Regions from separate parts of the Homo sapiens genome. Here all the other regions are linked to region 3. The links are contacts of gene promoters, found by promoter capture Hi-C in human tissues and cell types (Jung and others, 2019). All regions are on one chromosome and are shown on one strand. The core of a region is centred on a gene start or on the middle of the fragment in contact, and the rest is flanking DNA. Distances in the headings are between cores, read along the strand shown. Region 1 holds the start of LOC105372997 (a long non-coding RNA gene). Region 2 overlaps LIMK2 (LIM domain kinase 2). Region 3 holds the start of MORC2 (MORC family CW-type zinc finger 2).

The links. Contacts are between HindIII fragments. The study calls those that stand out against the background at their distance.
Region 1: a fragment that was not itself captured here is called in contact with the fragment with the promoter of MORC2 in region 3 in 1 of the 25 tissues and cell types used here (dorsolateral prefrontal cortex).
Region 2: a fragment that was not itself captured here is called in contact with the fragment with the promoter of MORC2 in region 3 in 1 of the 25 tissues and cell types used here (mesendoderm cells).

The regions. Positions count from the first base shown.
Region 1 is chr22:31,301,592-31,306,171 of GRCh38, forward strand. LOC105372997 (a long non-coding RNA gene) reads right to left here and starts at 1,195. Exons shown (of 4, transcript XR_001755493.3): 1 at 15-1,195. It also overlaps the pseudogene RNA5SP496. The HindIII fragment of the contact is 8,851 bases long and covers 1-4,580 here.
Region 2 is chr22:31,245,516-31,250,407 of GRCh38, forward strand. All of the region lies in intron 2 of LIMK2 (LIM domain kinase 2), which reads left to right. Among named protein-coding and RNA genes, the nearest start is that of LIMK2, 36 kb to the left of the region's middle. RefSeq lists enhancers at 1,978-2,868, 2,869-3,758. The HindIII fragment of the contact is 8,275 bases long and covers 1-4,892 here.
Region 3 is chr22:30,967,524-30,972,142 of GRCh38, forward strand. It overlaps MORC2 (MORC family CW-type zinc finger 2), which reads right to left and starts at 1,251. Exons shown (of 26, transcript NM_001303256.3): 1 at 299-1,251. The coding sequence starts at 366. It overlaps TUG1 (taurine up-regulated 1), which reads left to right and starts at 1,742. Exons shown (of 3, transcript NM_001396518.1): 1 at 1,742-4,256. The coding sequence starts at 1,834. The coding sequence ends at 2,295. RefSeq lists an enhancer at 1,653-1,982 and a silencer at 2,013-2,262. The HindIII fragment of the contact is 8,152 bases long and covers 1-4,619 here.

The sequences.
Region 1 (4,580 bases), core at 952-3,451, 340 kb after region 3:
TAGCTGTTGAGTACCTTCTGTGTCAGGGACTGCTTTTCCTTTTATTATCTCACTTTTCTCCTGGCCATCTTTCCCATTCTGCTCTGTGGAGTCTTCTCCTTGAAACTTTCTTCACCCATTTTTTTTTCTGACAGTTGGCTCCATCTCATCTCTTCTTAAGAGGTGTCCTTTAGATAATTCATCTATTAGGAAACACAGTGAATGTTACACATTCTTCATATATATTCCTCATACAGATTGAGAGCTTCTGCTATTATTCCATTACAGTCAGCAAAATGGAGAGAGAAAGGAAAAAGAATCTCAGACAAGATCATAGAGTGATTGTGGCTGGAAGGAAGTCCAAGGACAACAGAAATCAACATTTTATTACAATGAGGCCCAATTATATGATCTGATTGCTGCCCTTCTCACCCTCTGTGAAGCCCAGTTAACAGAAATGAGCAGTGCTGTGGGAGGTGTCATAAGTGGACTCAAATTGGCCCCAGAATGGCAAACTCTGAGTTCAATAATAGATTAAGTACCAGCTTCAAACACTCAGTGTGTTCTCTGAGTTCCCAAAGATATTTCTACCTGGAGCTTTCTTCTACACTTACCTTAATGGCTCAGTTGGAAGTCAGCCATCACTGCTAAGTGTTCTTAGTTCTATGCAGCATTGGCAGGAGCTTCCCTATTATCCTGATGTTAGTAATAGAAAGTCTGCCCAGTTGTAGCCAGGCTGTTCCCCCTAAAGCAATAGTGGAGCATTTCCACTTTCTAGGATCTTGTCCTTTCCAACACTGAGTGGACTAACCTCTTGTCACTTTCACCAGTCATTAGATTTATGAGAAAATCTCCCCATTCCTAGAGTGGATCTGCTATCAGGCAGCAATCTGCTTTTTGCTCTGAATTTCTGATCTCTTGGATACAGTAGGAGAATCTGCTCCGATGAACATTAAATTAATATATGTAAAGCATTTAGAAGAATGCCTCACACATATTAAGAGTTTCTGCTATTATCATTAATACTATCGTTGTTATTGCCACCATCTAGGATCAGAAGCTAGAGCTTAGCTGAACATCTAATTCTTGCTCTTGTTATTCTGAGTGGTTTAGCAAATCCAATTTATCTGGAAATGGGGCTGAATATGTTTGGTTTCCGCTCAATTTTGTGGCCATTGCCACTTCAAAGAGTTTTCAAAAGGTCAAAATGTTATCATTTTAGTGTTTTTACTTCTTAGGGCTTCAACATCCCCTCTCTGGATTCTTAAGAGACTCTGATCCTGAATCAGTGAAATGGATAATCGAGCAATCTCTGCATGAAAGATGTACATTTTATCCAGTCATCCAGTGTTTAACAAACACCAGCTCAATGTGGGACAGTAATAAATGTCATCGCTAACATTTATTGAGCACCTAGTATGTGCCAGATACTGTTCTAAGTGCTTTATATATACTATCTCATTTATTCTTCATAAAAACCCTATATATAGGCACTGTTATTATCTTCCTTTTACAAATGAAGAAACAATCATAAAGAGGTTAAGTAATTTGCGTAAAGCCACAAAGATAAGTGAAAGAGCTGGGATATGTACCCAGGCAGTCATATCTCATAGCTTTTGCTAGTTACCACCTCACTGTACTGACAGGGAGAACCCTGGATTTAAGAGGCAGAAGTTCGGCTGGGCGCGGTCGCTCACGCCTGTAATCCCAGCACTTTGGGAGGCCGAGGTGGGCAGATCACGAGGTCAGGAGATTGAGACCATCCTGGCTAACACGGTGAAACCCCGTCTCTACTAAAAGTAGAAAAAATTAGCCGGGCGTGGTGGCAGGCGCCTGTAGTCCCAGCTACTTGGGAGGCTGAGGCAGGAGAATGGCGTGAACCTGGGAGGCAGAGCTTGCAGTGAGCTGAGATCACACCACTGCACTCCAGCCTGTCTCAAAAAAAAAAAAAAAAAAAAAAGAGGCAGAAGTCCAATCTGGTCTCAACTCCTCCATTCCATCATTTAACAAGTTGAATGACCTTAGGTATACCTTTCTTGAAACTCAAGTTTCTTTATCTGTAAAATGGATAGGGTAATACGTACTTCACAGGATGGTTGTGAAGACTGTTATGTGCCCTGGACTTCTTAGGCATTCAGTAAATGTTAGCTTCTCTCACTACCCGATTCTAAGCACTACACTGGTGCTCAAGATTGACTAAGAAAGTTGTACCTCCGGCCGGGCGCAGTGGCTCATGGCCGTAATCCCAACACTTTGGGAGGCTGAGACGGGCGGATCACGAGGACAAGAGATCGAGACCATCCCGGTCAACATGGTGAAATCCCGTCTCTACTAAAAATACAAAAATTAGCTGGGCATGGTGATGTGCGCCTGAAATCCCAGCTACTGGGGAGGCTGAGGTAGGAGAATCACTTGAACCCGGGAGGCAGAGGTTGCAGTGAGCCGAGATCGTGCCATTGCACTCCAGCCTGGCGACAGAGCAAGACTCTGTCTCAAAAAAAAAAAAAAACAGAAAAAGTTCTACCTCCTTGTGGTCCCAGTCTGGGATGAAGAGGGAAGAAGAGGACAAATATGGGACCAGGTCATTATGGTATAGTATAAGAAATACCACTTTAGAGGAATATACAGAGAGAAGAATACAGAAAGTTACATTTTCTGAGATGGGGCAAGGAGGAGTTGAAGTTTCAGGGTACCAGTGACATTTGTGTTGGGCATTGAAAAACAGGCTTGGATGGGATGGACAGAAGGCACAAAAGTTTCTGAGCAGAAGAAACAGCATGTGTGCAGGCGCTAAAGTATGGCAGAGCTCAGAGTATGTGTTCTAGTAATGGCTAGAGGTTTGGTATGCAGTTGGGTATTGGAGGTGAGATGGTAACTGAGTAGTAACAAATGAGTTTGCAAAGAGAGGCATTCAAGGCTTCAGATGTCAGTTATGTCCCAGCACCACGAAGACAGTAAAACATAGACATCTTTTAAAAGAAAATTTACCGAAAGTAAATAAATTTAGCAACAAAAACTTTATAAATGCTCTTTTCTATTGAGATACAATTCACATATCATGAAATTCATCATTTTACAGCATACAGTTCAGTAGTTGTTAGTACCTGTGCGTCACTTAACAACAAGGATAGGTTCTGAGAAATGCGTCATGCAAACATCATAGAGTATAATTACACAAACCTAGACGGGACAGCCTACTACATATCTAGGCTATATGGTGTAACCTACTGATCTCAGGCTACAAACCTGTACAGCATCTAACTGTACTAAATACTATAGGCAACTTTAACACAATGATAAGTATTAGTGTATCTAAACATAGAAAAGGTACAGTAAAAATATGGTATTATAATCTTATAGCGGGGATCCCCAAACCCCAGGGCTGTGGCCAGTTAGGAACCCAGTAGCACAGCAGGAGGTGAGCAGCAGGTGAGCAAACATTACCATCTGAGCTCTGCCTCTTGTCAGATCAGTGGTGACATTAGATTCTAATAGGAGTGTGAACCCTATTGTGAACTGCACATGCTAGGGATCTAGGTTGCGCACTCCTTCCAAGAATCTAACTAATGCCTGATGATCTGAGGTGGAACAGTTTCATCCTGAAACCATCCCCCCATCACCCCCAGTCCATGGAAAAATTGTCTTCCATGAAACCAGTCCCTGGTGCCAAAAAGGTTGGGGACCACTGTGTTATAGGACCACTGTCATATATGCGGTCTGTTGACTGAAACATCATTATGTGGCTCATGTCTGTATATTCACAAGGTTGTGTAACCATCACCGCTATCTAATTCCAGAACACTTCATCACCCCAAAAAGAAACGCTGGTACCTGTCTACAGCCATACCACCCTGAACATGTGCAATCTTGTCTGATCTCAGAAGCTAAGCAGGGTTGAGTCTGGTTAGTACTCAGATGGGAGAAACCTAGTACCTGTTGGCAGCCACTCTTCATTTTCCTTTCTCCTCACCCTCTGGCAACCTCTGATCTCCTTCTTTTTTAAATAATAATAATAATAATTATTATTATTATTATTATTATTATTGTTATTATTATTTTGAGACGGAGTCTCGCTCTGTCAGCCAGGCTGGAGTGCAGTGGCATGATCTCGGCTCACTGCAAGCTCCGCCTCCCAGGTTCACGCCATTCTCCTGCCTCAGCCTCCCGAGTAGCTGGGACTACAGGCGCCCGCCAGCGTGCCCGGCTAATTTTTTGTATTTTTAGTAGAGACGGGGTTTCACCACGGTCTCGATCTCCTGACCTTATGATCCACCCACCTTGGCCTCCCAAAGTGCTGGGATTACAGGCGTGAGCCACTGCGCCTGGACTCTTTTTTAAAATTTTTATTATTTTATTTGTTATTGTCCCAAGTGTTCCAAGTAAATACTGATCTCTTTGTATTTCTATGGATATGCCTATTCCAGACATTTTATGTAAATGGAATCATACTATATGCAACCTTTTGTGTCTGGCTTCTTCTACTAAGCATGATGTTTTGAAGGTTCATCTAAGTTGTAGCATGTATCAGCATTTCTTTTTATGGCTGAATAATATTCCTGTGTATGGATGTACCATATTTTGTTTATCTAGTCATCAGTTGG
Region 2 (4,892 bases), core at 169-2,668, 280 kb after region 3:
AGTCTCGAACTTCCAACCTCAGGTGATCTGCCCGCCTCAGCCTTCCAAAGTGCTGGGATTACAGGCGTGAGCCACCATGACTGGCCTGATTGACTGATTTTTTTAGTAGAGATAGGGTCTTGGTTTGTTACCCAGGCTGGTCTCAAACTTCTGGCTTCAAGCAGTCCTCCCTCCTTGGCCTCTCGAATGCTGGGATTATAGGCATGAGCCACTATGCCTGGCCTATATGACCTGTGATTTTTAATGGTTAGGGGAAAAAAAGCAAAAGAATGCTTTGTGACATGTGGAAATTACATGAAACTCAAATATCAGTGTCCCAGCCTGGGCAACAAAGTGAGACCCTGTCTCTACAAAAAATAAAAAAAAATAAGCCAGGGCCGGGCGCAGTGGCTCACACCTATAATCTCAGCACTTTGGGAGGCCGAGGCAAGTGGATCACCTGAGGTCAGGAGTTCAAGACCAGCCTGACCAATATGGTGAAACCCTGTCTGTACTAAAAACACAAAAATTAGCCGAGCATGGTGGCATGCGCCTGTAGTCCCAGCTACTTGGGAGGCTGAGACAAGAGAATTGCTTGAACCTGGGAGGCGGAGGTTGCAGTGAGCCAAGATCGCGACACTACACTGCAGCCTGGGCAACAGAGCGAGACTCCGACACACGCACGCACGCACACACACACACACACACACACACACACACACGCTGGGTATGGTGGCCAGCACGTGTGGTCCCAGGATGCACTGGAGGCTTAGGTAGGAGGATCACTTGAGCTTAGGTGGTTGAGACTACAATGAACCATGTTTATACCACTGCACTTTAGCCAGGGCAACAGTGTGAGACTGAATCTCAAAAGAAAAAAAAAAAAAAGAAAAAAATCTTTCCATAAGTAAATATCTGTTGGAACATAGCCATGTCCCTTAGTTTATGTTTTATATATGGCTGCTTTTGCCCTATAATGACACAATTGAGTGGCCACGACAGTCTGTATGGCCTGCAGAGCCTAAGATATTTGCTCTCTGGCCCTTTACAGAAAAAGTGCCTTGACCTGTGCTCTAGAGCCATATGTACCAGGTTTGAAACTCAGCCTCACAGCTGGGTGTGATGGCACGCATCTGTAGTCCCAGCTACTCTGGAGGCTGAGGTGAGAGGATCACTTGAGTCCAGAAGGTCGAGGTCAAGATTGTAGTGAGCCATGATGGCATCACCGCACTCCAGCCTGAGTGACAGAGAGAGACCCTGACTCAAAAAAAAAAAAACAAAAAAAAAAAACACCCTCACCACTTATCAGCTATTTGTCTTGAGAATAGTGACATAACCCCTCAGAACCTATTTCCTAATCTGTTAAATGAGGCTGATGACGTTTCCTCCTTTTACTGGCAATTTAAACATGATGGATAATAAATGCTAAGCACTTAACACAGGGCCTAGAAGATATTAACTGCTCAATAAATGGTAGCTTCTTAACAGTATTCAAACCCATGTGCTCTTATCACATGCATTGTTGTCCCTGTGTCCAGTTGGTGGAATGGGAAAAGGCTCCCTTGTAACCCCATCTACCATCTTTATCAGACTTTCCTGCCATGGTTCACAGTAAGAGATAGAAGCTGCACGGTGACTTCTGGCTCTTTACAATGGTGAGCGGTGTGTGCCTGGTAAGGGAGAGCTGATGTCACTGCCCCAAATCCAGTAGTGAGATCTGAGTGTTCTGGTTTCCTCCAGCAGCCTTGCTTTTTCCTTTACAATCCTGCAGGCAGGGAGACAAGGGCTTTCTACATGGTAGGCTCTGGTTTGGTCATCGTCACAACTGGGGGCTGTTCAGGTGGGCTCCCATTCCAGATACCTAGGCTTATCAATCCCTTTTGGCACCCCAGGCCTTTTTCTCCCTCATGCCCCATTTTTCAGTTTGAAAAGCATGGTTATCACAGGACAAGTAGAAGAAGCTCCACTGTCCACTGAGGCCAATGGATGGTGTTCTGCATGTGAACACTCAGTGAATAGTGAGTGAATGAGAGTAACCTGGGCTCCATCCTATTTGCAGAGAGCTTTGGAAAAGATTTTTCTCCTTAAAGAGCCAGAATGAAGCCTGGTAGTGGGAGAGCTCCAGCTCTAGAGTCACATGAGCCTACATTTAAATTCCAGCCCTGCCACTGACTCCCTTTTTGACCTTGAGTGAGTTACCTAATCTCTCTGTACCTCACTTTTCTTGTCTGTAGAGTGGGAATAATTCCTGTCTCAGAGAAATAAAAGAGTGCATATAGTGTTTGCCACATGGAGACACATCAGGTGTAGGTTAATACTCTGGGCCTTGTTTCCTTATTTGCAACACAGCCCTGCCCTGGAGTGGAAGTGGCACCTCCCATTGGTCAGCTCTTGAGGCTGTCCCCAGGACAGGCAGAGGGAGGGAATGAATGGGAGCCCTAGTGCCAGGACAGAACAGATGGCAGCTCAGAGCTAGGATGGCTCTCTGGACCTGTCTCTCCTACCAGAGGTCCCCCCGTCTGGTGTGGCTCTTCCTGGACCTGGCATCCTCTGCTTTTTTTTTTTTTCCACCTCCAAGCAGAATTACTGTCCTGTAGGCAGCTCCTCTGCTTGAGGACATCTGGGGCCAGATATGTTCACACTCTATCCTGCCTTGCCCTTCCCTGAGCTCAGGATGGACGCTCAATTGGTCCCAGTTATTGTCTGCAGCGCCTGCCTGCAGCCTCGATCCAGCCCAGCTCCACCCCTTGCCTGCAAGGTCTGTTTCCTAACAGCTGCTCCAACCACACACCTCGGTTCTGCGGGAGCCCCTCCTCTTCCTCCCTCCCTCCCTCATTCAGGGGTGGGACTGAAGAAGAAGGCTAACTTGACAGCAGCGCTTCTTTCTTAGCTAGTCACCGGCCCCTGCTCAAGAATGCCAGTGTGTGTGTAGCCTCCACAGAGAGGTCGTTTTCTCGGAGTCCAGAGGGGCCGCCTGAGCTTCTGAGAACTAGGGAGGAGCCATCCCAGCCATGAGCCCCTGTGGGAATCTGCTGGGGGCCAAGTGGCCTGGAGTCCTCAGGCTCCCGCAGCTGCTCCGGAGGGAGAGGTGAGCTCAGGGCAGCCTGCCTGCAGCCAGAGGTGCCGGGAGCCCCGGGCCTGTCATGGTGGCCATCTACAGCCGGCCTGAGGCAGTCACAGACGGATTTGCAGCTGAGCCTGTCTATCTGGTGTGGGAAGAAGATGGGGAGTTACTTGTCAGTCCCGGCTTACTTCACCTCCAGAGACCTGTTTCGGTGAGTTGGTCTCCGAGTTCCCCTCTCCATCTCTCCTGGCCCCTGGTCCTGAGAGGAGGGTGGTCTCCCTAAATCTCCTTCTCACTTAGTCCTTTACCATCGGTTCTGCCGGGCAGAAGCCAGCGGAGGTTATACCCAAGGAGAATCGGCCTTGTGAGGTACCCCCATTATGTCCTGGAAGTGGTGAGGGGAGGGATATACCCAGAAGGAACTTCTTAGGGAGCTCCAGCTCCCCTTCTATCCCAGACAAACCTGAAGGAGCCTCCAAAAGATGCCACTGACCTGCCCATTGTAGATGTTACTGCTTCCGGGGGGAATAGCCCAAATAGAGTGCTGTTTCCAGCTCTCACATGTCTTACCTGCGGGCCATGCTGCCTGCCCAGGAATTTGTCCCAACAAGCAGGATGGGCAGGTTTTGCCAAACTGTGGAAACTGGCAAGTCCTGGGTGTGGGTAGCCTGGTACACAGTAGGCACCTTATAAACGTTTGTTCTCTTAATGGCAGGCACATTTGCCTCTGGCCTTGAAGGGCTTCTGAGCTCCCAGGTGAATGTAGTTGCTGGGGAAAGACCTGGGCGAGTGCTTCTAAGACTGGAGCAATGGGCTTTAGAGTGTTCCTGAGCTGCTGGGCCAGCCCCCACACCTCCTCAGTCCCTAGGCCTAAGTACCTCCACGAGCCTCTCTCTGTGGGGCTTCTCAGAGGGAGATGTGGAAACTCTACCTCTAACCTGGCTTTCTTTGCTCATTGCCCCACTCCACCTCCCATAGAAACTCCCCAGGGGGTTTCTGGCCCTCTGGGTCCCTTCTGAATGGAGCCATTCCAGGCTAGGGTGGGGTTTGTTTTCATTCTTTGGGAGCAGCCTGTTGTTCCAAAAAGGCTGCCTCCCCCTCACCAGTGGTCCTGGTCGACTTTTCCCTTCTGGCTTCTCTAAGCTAGGTCCAGTGCCCAGATCTTGCTGCCGGGATACTAGTCAGGTGGCCAGGCCCTGGGCAGAAAAGCAGTGCACCATGTGGTTTTGTGGAATGACCGGACCCTGGTAGATTGCTGGGAAGTGTCTGGACAGGGGGAAGGGGGAAGGGAACTGGTCCTCAATGCTGACTCTACCAAGCGCCCTGCTAGACACTTTATCCTTTAATCTCTCAACAGCCTAAAGAGATTATATATCCCCATTTTACAGATGAGGCAACCAGTTTCAACAGAGTTAACATATGGAGCCTCACTGGGCAGCTTTTTCTGTCTTCCTGACTTTCTCTCATCCTTCAGGGGGCTGCAGGTTTGTTTTCTTCTCCTAGTGGAGAGGAAATTCTCAGGTTTGTTTTCCTCTCCTAGCAGAGAGTAAAAAAAGGGATAGTTTGCCTGACTTGTTGAAGGTGTGGCTGAGATTGTTTTCTAAAGAGCCAATGGAAATTGATCTTGAGTTTAGGAGAAAGCTTTTACATGTGGAATTAAGATGCCAAGTGTTGAAGTAGCCACATTTCAGGTCCTCATTAATTTCTCTTAATCCTGGGAAGGCAGCTTAGGAGAAGGGTTGTTCCTTTAGGAGCCAGGAACTATACCCCTTTTACCCTTGGAGAGGCAGGGAAGCCAGGGAGGACACAACTTCTCAGGAAGAGGAGAAGCTAGAGCAGATAGTGAACT
Region 3 (4,619 bases), core at 1-2,500:
TGTTGGATTCCTATAAACACTTGAATGAAACAACTCAACATATTGACTTCAAATAACTAAAGTTTGCATTTAGAAAATTTTGATCCAATAAACAAAAATCAGATTCTTCTGGATTAGCAACAAGTATTTCACTGATCTCAGTTCTTCAATACAGAGCTCAAGATATCCAGTGACACATTTCACTCCAGTGGGATACATCTCAAAAAGTGAAAAAGCAAAATTTTCTGGGGAAACGATTTCCATATAATATCAAGGAACGAGTTACTGGTTACCTCAGTGGCACCTAGAGGATACTTACGAATTTGTGTGCAGATATTCAAAGGTTAGCTGAGCTCGATTCAGACTGCTGTAATTTGTGAAAGCCATGACTGCAATAAGGTCTCCAGCCCTTCACCCGCTAACTGGGAAATATAACCTTATAATGATATCGATTTCCCAGGATTCTGTCCAGTAAAGCTTCAGTAAGTCTGTGCTCCTTAATGACAGTTAAAGTAACCTAGTAGCTATCCAAAATATATGCAGAGATGTTTAAAACTACAATTTCTTCAAGTGTTTTTTTTTAATCTTCTCAATGATTTATGATGTAATATTTTGGAAGGAACTATGTCATAAATCTGTAGCTTTAAGGAGCTTTTAGCATTAAGTTGCGATAGCTCAATTCAGACAATCTGAGTCTCGTGTGGATGGTCCTGAAGGAGATGGTCCTTGAGTGGGTGGTTTATGACTGCTCCATCTTCATGTTCTTCCAGCCTTTTTTGGTTCCCCGAAATTTCCTGTCAGGAAATTTACCAACGCGGAAATTTACCCACTTCTGTCAGAAAACTGATCAGCCATGTCTTCGCCACACGTGATGCCAGGATTCTTAAACAGGCCCAAGACCGGAGACCAAGATGTCGACGGAGTGTTATATGGCGCAAGTTGCAGCTTCACCACCTCCCAAGTGAAAAAGCTCCTAGGCACTCACGATTTCTTTTTTCAAAGCCGGACCAAACCCAGTTCAGGGTGGTGGTCAGATTACCTCACACTTGGCCCACATAAACACCTCACAAATGACCCGCCCACAGCACCTCGGGCAGGCCGCGCCCCGCCCCCACGTCCCTCAGACAACAGCCTCAGCCTCCCAGGCCCTTCCCGGGCCTCGGTCCCGTGGCCGCCTCCCCACGAAGAGGAGCTACTCCCGGCTTCCAAGGACCGGATCGAGGGCAGTGGCGAGCGCACCACCTGACCGGGCACTACCCGGATCTCACAACTGCCTTTGTCCCTCCCCGCGGAATTGGAACCCAACAGCCGCAGAGCGCTCTTGGAACCATGTGCTGCTGCCGCCTCCGCCGCCGCCGCCGCTGCCTCCGCCGCCGCCCGCGCGCCGCCCGCGCGCCGCGCTAGTTGAGATGGTGACAGGATTCAGCAACACGAAATTCGGCGTTTAGAGCTGCTCTGCCGCCGCCGTCACAGACACCACAGCCACCGCTTTGTCTCCGATAGTGCACACAGCCCCGGCCACCTCGCACACTCCCCGACGCCCCAAGCCCCCGAGGCCTCCGCGGAGCATTCAGCCAATCACAAAGCTGCAGCTCCTCCCGCCCCCGCCCTGATGTACAGCCTCCTGATTGGCGGGCTGCGTGTCCCCATGTGACCGGATCTTGGTTGGCCGGTCCCGCCCCTGTCACGTGACAGCGTGCGCCTCTCTTCCTGCTTTCCTGACCCTCTCCGCCATTTAAAGAAACAGTACCGGGGGCGGGCCGAGCGACGCAGCCGGGACGGTAGCTGCGGTGCGGACCGGAGGAGCCATCTTGTCTCGTCGCCGGGGAGTCAGGCCCCTAAATCGAAGAAGCCCTGGCGCGCCCTCCCCCCCTCCCGGGTCTGGTAGGGCGAAGGAACGGGCGTGCGGTCGATCGAGCGATCGGTTGGCGGCTCTTTCTCCTGCTCTGGCATCCAGCTCTTGGGGCGCAGGCCCGGCCGCCGCGGCGCGCGCCCGGTGGCCGTTGGCGCTCGCGCCGCGTCTTTCTTCTCGTACGCAGAACTCGGGCGGCGGCCTATGCGTTTGCGATTCGACGAGGAGTCGTCCGGGTGGTCGGCGGCGGCGGGCAGCTGCTCCGCCCCGCTCCGGGGGAGGCGGCGGCGGCAGCGGCCGCGGGATTTGGAGCGGCCGGGGAGGCGGGGGTGGCCGGGGCCGGCTTGGAGGCCTGGCGCCACCCTTCGGGGCCTGCAAGGACCCAGTTGGGGGGGCAGGAGGGGGCCGGAGGATGGTTGGTTGTGGGATTTCTACTTTGCCTTTTCCTCCTTATGCCGCCTTAGTGAGGGGCGGGAGCTCTGGCGGCAGCCCCGGGGTGGGGAGACGAGCTCCGGAGTCGGAAGAGCTGGGTTTTCTTCCGGGCCTAGCCACCAGTTGGCGGAGTGACCTTAGGCGAGTCACTCTGTAATTTGTCTGCGCCTCAGTTTCCTCCTCTGCCTATCAATGTGTGTGGGGTTGAAATCGCTTTGTAAACTATAAAGCGTGGGTGTACGTAAAGGATGGTTATTGTTTATAATTTTTTTTGAGTTGTAAGAAAACTTAGCAGTTCCCCAATCCTTGGGTTTTGAACCTGGGAACCTTGGATTGGAGTTGGGGATCCCCAAACTTCCTGAAATTGTGGGAATGTGCGGTTTGGGGGAATGATGGGAATTTGTGGGAATGTGCGTTTTAGGGGAATGATGATCCATCGCTAGCAAGTTTTCCAAGGGGGCTGTGACCCAGAAGAGTTAAGAATCACAATTTCTTCATGCTACAGAGAGGAAACTGAGGCCTAGATGTCATTTGGGACCCTTCACAACCATTTTGAAGCCCTGTTTGAGTCCCTGGGATATGTGAGCTGTTTCTATGCATAATGGATATTCGGGGTTAACAACAGTCCCCTGCTTGGCTTCTATTCTGAATCCTTTTCTTTCACCATGGGGTGCCTGAAGGGTGGCTGATGCATATGGTACAATGGCACCCAGTGTAAAGCAGCTACAATTAGGAGTGGATGTGTTCTGTAGCATCCTATTTAAATAAGCCTATTTTATCCTTTGGCCCGTCAACTCTGTTATCTGCTGCTTGTACTGGTGCCTGTACTTTTCTGACTCTCATTGACCATATTCCACGACCATGGTTGTCATCCATTACTTGATCCTACTTTACATGTCTAGGCTGTGTGGTTGGTGGTGAATAGGCTTCTTTTTACATGGTGCTGCCAGCCCAGCTAATTAATGGTGCACGTGGACTTTTAGCAAGCGGGCTCACTGGAAGAGACTGAACCTGGCATGGAATTCCTGAAGATGTTTGGGGTTTTTTTCTTTCTTAATCGAAAGTTAACATTGTCTGAAAAGTTTTGTTAGAACTACTGCGGAACCTCAAAATCAGTAGATTTGGAAGTGATTCAAAGCTAAACTTTTTCCTTGGCCCTCCTTGTGTTCTAATTGCTTGCAAGTGTAATACTAGGATGTCCAAGATGCCAGTTTTTGCTTCTTTGTTAGTTGTCAGCTGCTTTTATCAAATTTCAGGCCATTATCCAACAAACACTATAAAAATGTTTGAACAATTGGATTTCAAACATTTTCGTTTTGTGGAGTGGTGCTCACCAAGTGGTACAGCCCTAAGCAAGTGAACACAAACACATTTAAGTGTATTTTGTCTGATTAGATGTTAGCCAGTTATGCTATTTCATTCAAATGTCTGAAAAAATCAATTGACTATTCCCTTTTCCTAAAGGGCAGAGACAGATAATCTCACTTCCAGAGAAATGACTTGGAGAAAAAAAAGTGTTGGTCTTTTTGCTCTTTTGTAATTAAATCCGGATGTACCTCAAAAGACTTAAGACTGTGGTGATAAGATGCTTTCCTCAGCAGAAAGGAGGGAAAAAAAACAACTGGAACTCAAAGCTTGAAATTCTGTGGCAAAACATGAGATGTCCAGGATTGGAGGTTGAAAAGATTTCACTACAGTGTTCTGCAATAGTTGGAGCAGATAACTTTCAGTGTAGCCACAGCCATGGACTCCAGATTTCCAGATTTTCAAGACCTGGACCTGGAACCCGAAAGAGCTTGTCACGATGCGGCAGGAACACTGGAGGTAGATTTTTTTTTATTTTTGAATTTTGGGACTGTTGACCTTGCTGTGAGAAAAGAGACAACGACTGAGCAAGCACTACCACCAGCACTGTTACTGGGAATTAGAAGACCTGAGTTTCTGTCCAGACCCTCAGTGCAAACTGAGGATGCTCCATCCAAAGTGAATTATGGTACTTGCCATTTTCCAAAATGCCTTATCCTTTACCATCTCTGCACTTTTGTTCATACTCTCATTCTACTTTGGAACTGCTGCTCTGTGGCTTTTCATCTGTCAAAACTGCCATTTTCTCAGTATCCAACTCTTATGCCCTCTTTTCCATGAGTCTCCTAACTAGCCAGAATAGAGCTTTAAAGTTTTATGACATTTCGTTATGTATCCTCTATCTGTATACAAAATCCTGTAAAATAGTTACTTGCCTGCATTTACTGTCTTTGCAGATAGCAGACTCCTTGAAAGCAGGGTCCTTGTTTAGTGCATCTTTGCCCACATACACCACAACATATCAAGATGCATTTATTAGGAAGGAGGAGTT